Regions from separate parts of the Homo sapiens genome. Here region 1 is linked to region 2. Evidence: promoter capture Hi-C in human tissues and cell types (Jung and others, 2019). All regions are on one chromosome and are shown on one strand. The core of a region is centred on a gene start or on the middle of the fragment in contact, and the rest is flanking DNA. Distances in the headings are between cores, read along the strand shown.

Region 1 (2,889 bases), core at 303-2,802, 260 kb after region 2:
AGCTCACTGCAACCTCTCCCTCCCAGGTTCAAGTGATTCTCCTGTCTCAGCCTCCTGAGTAGCTGGGATTACAGGTGTCCGCCACTACACCCGGCTAATTTTTGGTATTTTTAGTAGAGAAGGGGTTTCACCATGTTGGCCACACTAGTCTCAAACTCCTGACCTCAGGTGATCCACCTGCCTCGGCCTCCCAAAGTGTTGGGATTACAGGCGTGAGCCACCACTCCCAGCCAAGGATTTCATTTCTGTAGGTACCATCGGCTTTCTCACTTCTCCCTATCTGTTGAACATGTTCCACATTTTTTCCCGCAGCCTTTTCACCAAATCATAACCCAGGAGAATGGTGAAGGCACAGAGAGTGATAAGCTGCTTCATGACAATCTTCATTTCAGAACTAAAAGCAAAAACTGCACTATTTAGGTATCTGTGAGTTGTGAACGTTCTGTCTATGAGTTACAACTGTCTATTTTAACTTAGAAGACTCAATCTTCAAAATTAATAATTACTTTTTAGATGTATACAAAAGTAAAATATTCCAGCATTTTGGGAGGCCGAGTGTGCAGGGGTGGATCACTTGAGTTCAGGGATTCAAGACCAGCCTGACCAACATGGTGAAACCCTGTCTCTACTAAAGAAGTACAAAATTAGCCGGGCCTGGTGGTGTACTCTGGTAATCCCAGCTACTTGGGAGGCTGAGGCAGGAGAATTGCTTAAACCTGGGAGGCAGAGGTTGCAGTGAGCTGAGATCATGCCATTGCATTCCAGCCTGGGCAACAAGAACAAAACTTTGTCTCAAAAAAAAAAAAAAGTAAAATATTGTCCTTAATTTTTATCTTATAAAACTATATTATATTCTATAAACAGTCACATAAATTAATTTTTCTTCAGCCATGTTAAAATGTACTATTGTTTTCACGTCTTAAGAAAGAATAAGTATGGACACAAGAGTTTGTTTTCCTTTTCCAGACTTAAGATTTGTGATATAAAAGTTAACTGAAGTGAGAGCGTTTCAACTGGGTTTCCACATCATTTTCCACAGTGGAATCATCTGAGGCATAGAATTCAGTGCACCCACACATAGCTTTGAAATATAGTCCTCTGACTATGTCTGGAGAATATGCCAAGCTTTCCAACAGCAAGCAAGACTGAGGCATCAGCATAGAGATTAGGCCTGGCTGAAGAGCTCTTGAAATACGTGTGCCTTATACAAAACACCTGGGAATGTCAGACACCATGGTATAAAAATCACCAAAGTAATTAGGCCAGTGACTGTGTCATTGATTGTAACTACCAGTCAATGTCTAGCTAATATTTAACTAGTGGCAGCAATGAATATAACATTCAATGATAGATGGCGAGGGTAGAAAGTCTGCTCTCCAAAGAATGTCATCCTTTTCTCAATTCAGAAAAGTCCCTCAATTGCATTTTTCTCAGCTGCTTATACATAATTCAAATCTACTCTCTCGTATGTCTTATGTCACAAGCAATCACAAATGCAGTTATAGTCAAATTGAAAAGAAACTTGGAGTTGGTAGATCTGGGTTCAAATTTCACCTCTGCCACTTATTATGTGTAGCCTTGATGGGGTTCAGTTCCTTCTTCTGTAAGAAAGGGTTAATACCTACCTCATAGAATTGATGTGTTTTAAATATAGTTGAGCATTCACATAAAGAGGTTTTTGAAATTTTCTTCACTTTTCCGTAAGTTATAGCCAACTCATCTTTTTGTTCCAGTTTCTCCCTCATGATATTTGGTATATATGGCTTCCAATGGTGACTGCTTTAAAGGCTGGTGTACATTCAAATGCATATACATGTTCTTGTGTTAAATTTTTAAAAACCAAACTCCTGTCCAGGCGCAGTGGCTCACGCCTGTAATCCCAGCACTTTGGGAAGCCAAGGCAGGCGGATCACCTGAGGTCGGGCGTTCGAGACCAACCTGACCAACATGGAGAAACCCCATCTCTACTAACAACACAAAATTGGCTGGTCATGGTGGTGCATGCCTGTAATCCCAGCTGCTTGGGAGGCTGAAGCAGGAGAATCGCTTGAACCTGGGAGGCAGAGGTTGCAGTGAGCTGAGATGGCGCCATTGCACTCCAGCCTGGGCAACAAGAGTGAAACTCCATCTCAAAAACAAAACAAAACAAAACAAAACAAAACAAAACAAAACAAAACTCCTTTTGTTGCTTTACACCTTCTCTCACATGGTATGATATACTGATAACACCTACACTTTTTTTGGAAGTGTTTTCATATACTTCCTTTGGACCAATAAAAATGAACCTTCTGAGATGTGGAGGATATGGGCTATTACCCCAATTTTAAAGGAAAAAAAAAGTTCAGTCAGAAGTTGAATGTCCCCATGAGGAGTAACAGAGGTCATTCCTGATTAATCTAATTTAATCTTTATAATTCAAGGATCCTCCCAGCCAAAACAATCTCAGGTATCCGATTTTATGCAATTCATTTTGTGAGTAACATCACAGAAGGATTGAGTAGGATACTGGTTTAACCATGGGCATAACATTTTTTTTTTCAGTATTGAAGAGTAAAGCTAAAGTTTGTTCACTAAGATGTTTAATTCAAGCCCCAGTAACAGAGATACACAACTGCCAAAGTCAGCTCTTAGGGGTGTTGTACCAGGAGGTGGTGTAAACAGATCTGGACCCAGAGAATTAGAAAGAAAAGGCAGAATGAAGTTCACAACAGCAGCTGCTACATTTAAAAATGTTAGAGCTGTTTTACAATTATTTTCACTTCCCTAGCTTTCTGAGCCTGTAAGTCTCTCTTCCCTATTTCAACATTCATCCTAAAGAGTTTTCAATTAGTATGTGAAACCAAAAGGTCAGAGTGTTTTAGTCTGATACAAATCATCCCTAACTAAAAT
Region 2 (2,887 bases), core at 170-2,669:
CACCCTTGTAGCTAGTGGGAAGAAATGTGGTTAAGAACTTCCTCTTATGCCAGGATGTTGATCAGAAGGGACTGTCCCCACTTAGGCCCAGGTGTAATAAATCAACCTAAATGTCATTAACTTGACCCAGCTCCTTATAATGTTACCTAACATGACATAAGTATTTTGGTTTTAGCTTCACCCTTTCCACCTGCTGTGGGTTTCGCTTGGGCACTCATGGGTAATAACCAAGACGGAGTCACTGTGGTCAATCCCAGGCATGCTCAGATGCAACACTGTTATAGGGGAACTTTACCCCTCCCATTTGGGCAGAGCCCACAGAAGACTTCCTTGTTCTTGCCATATAAACTCAGCCCCATTTCTGGCACCCTGCTTTCATGTCCCCTCTTACTGCTGAGAGCTTTCCCTATGCTTAATAAATCCTATTCTGCTTTACTCACTCTCTGGTGTCTGTATGTCTTATTCTTCCTGGTCATGGGAAGAGAGCCCAGACGTGGTTGAACTGAGGAGACCACCACACTGGTACCAAACAGCAAGGGGGAGACAGTGATCTTCACGTGGACACTCTCAGCTTGCAGCCCCTGCTCTCTCTAGGGGCACTGTCCTACCCATCCTTCATCCTGAGGAGAAAAGTTGGTAGAGAGGCTGGTCCCTTACTTCCAGTAGAAAAGACGTGTTCAGGCCCTCACTTTCTTGAGGTCAGAGCCCTCATGGCTGTACTCGATGTGGCAGCCACCAGACATATGTAGCTACTGAGTACCTGGAATGTGGCTGGTTTGAGGTAAAATGTGCTGCAAACATAAAATACACAGTGAGTTTAGACGAATTAAATCAGAAATATACTTTATTTCTAATTATATATTGATCACATATTGAAACAATATTTTGGATACAATAGGTTAAAATATAAACAATTTCACTTGTTTCTTTTTATTATTTTTGATGTGGCTAATAAAAAATTGAAAATTCACAAATAGCTAACATTTTATTTTTTAAAGGATTGCTTCCCCCTTAAAATCCTACTCAAAAGACCAGAGGACAGAGAGGTTATGAAATCTAAAATATTAAAATAATTGTCATTATATTGTTTCCATTTGTGAACAAGTGTGTGTCTGTGTGTGTGCGCGCGCGTACGTACACAATTTATAAATGGGCGTAACCTTACACACCAGAAGGTTAAAAATGAACCCCCAACAGAGCCAAGCCTAGCACAGAAAGCCCTGACTGAAAATACCTGGAGGCACGAGTCTGTCTCTCTTGCCTCATTAAGTGCACTGTGTGGTGGCAAGTTCTGTCACTCAAATTCTGAGCGTGGGGAGCTTGGTATCTTATCCAATCAGAGCGCTGGATTGAGAACTGCCCAATCAGGCGCGCAGCCGGAGAGGAGGGGGCGGCATCCGGGATCTGGCGCGGCTTTTGCCTTTTGCGCCAGCGTGAGCTCGGTTAGGGTCTCCACGGCCGTGCTTTCACCCCTCAGGGAGGCGTCGGTGATTCGGTCACAGCCTCAGCCTCCGTCGCTCTGTGACCTGCGGGTATTGGATGATTCGTAGCTGAGACTCCGCTACACCCCTGAAGTGGGGAAATGGTGAGTGTGGGGGCAGGGCGTCCCAAGGCTGGGGAGGCCTCATCCGAACCGGCGGGAAATGGCGGCGGCGGGACGGAGTCTGCGAACGGAGTCTCCGCTGCCGCCGCTCAGCCCTCAGTCCTTGGTCCCTTCCGGTGAGGGACCCGGGTTCATGTCGGTCCCCGCAAGGCGGCTTTGGCCCAGCCTGCAGCCCTACTTGTGCAGCTCTGCGCCCGCAGCCCCGCACCTTCCCTGGGCTGTGGGGTGAGGAGGAGCTCATCGGGAAAACGCCTGCGTGGCGTGCGAGGTGCCCGCCTGGGAGGAGCTGTGGTCCGGTCGTCGAGTCCCTACTTTACCCTGTTCGGAATAAGATCGAGGCCCTATCAAAACATAGAGTTCATGTGAGCAAATGGGGACTAATTAATGGGACAGCCCCGGGCATGGCTTGTGGTTTGGGGGCTGCCAGCGGGTCTTGAAGGAAAAGCTTTTGTGAGGTGTGTGAGGAAGCGAAGCAAATCACCCGCCCGCTCCAACTTGCCCACCAGTCCCCTTGCCCTGTGCGCCTCCTCCGCGTGGCTGTTCCTGAGTGGCATCTTTTAGAATACGCTGGTGTGGGCGCGCACAGCGCTTCGCTGAGTTCTGTGAGTAGTTCTGCCACATTATTGAACTTGAGGAGGGTGTGGGCGCCCCTGGTTTGTAGGCAGGCGTTCAGAAATGAAGACGGGTGTCCAGAGGCAGGGACTGCCGTCTGCAGGGGGGGGGCAGCTGCGGGAAGAGCGCTGAGCTTGTGGGGTCTTCGCTGACTCTGGGTGGTGTCGTTAGTGAGTTGCTGGACACCGCGTTGGGGTTGGAGCATTGACTGATGTTGAGCAAACTCCGCACGTTTTCTGTCAGAAGAAAGACATGGCTGAGCCTGGGCTGGAGAAAGATGCCTGGTGTCTGCGGGAGGCGCGGCCGGGTTCTGCACATGTGCTGTCCCGCTGGGCACTGTCCTTTTCCTCCAGGTCTCCTTCCGGGGAGAGAAGGGACTGGGAACTTAGAGGAAAGGAGTTCTGAGAAACATCCCTTCCCTGCACCCTGCTGCCAGCCCCCACTTAATGCTAACCCACTCCCGAGGACGCTCACTGGCCATTCGCATTGCCACACTCCTCCCAGGACAGGGTTCTACCCTCAGGAATTGTGCCCGTGACAGCTTTGCTCCTAGGGTATTCTGCCAATAACACACACAGTGCCAGGAAGACTCCTGGCTCATTTCAACCCCAGACACTGGATCTATAGCAGGAACCTGTTTCCTTCCCCCACCCAGGCTTCTGGACCACCTGA

What was found. The method cuts DNA at HindIII sites, captures the fragments that hold promoters and counts their contacts. A contact is called where the count stands out against the background at its distance.
Region 1: a fragment that was not itself captured here is called in contact with the fragment with the promoter of ZNF732 in region 2 in 2 of the 25 tissues and cell types used here (dorsolateral prefrontal cortex and mesendoderm cells).

Annotation. Positions count from the first base shown.
Region 1 is chr4:43,445-46,333 of GRCh38, reverse strand. No RefSeq gene overlaps it. Among named protein-coding and RNA genes, the nearest start is that of ZNF595, 8.4 kb to the left of the region's middle. The HindIII fragment of the contact is 4,756 bases long and covers 1-2,889 here.
Region 2 is chr4:304,006-306,892 of GRCh38, reverse strand. ZNF732 (zinc finger protein 732) reads left to right here and starts at 1,419. Exons shown (of 4, transcript NM_001137608.3): 1 at 1,419-1,585. The coding sequence starts at 1,583. The HindIII fragment of the contact is 17,523 bases long and covers 1-2,887 here.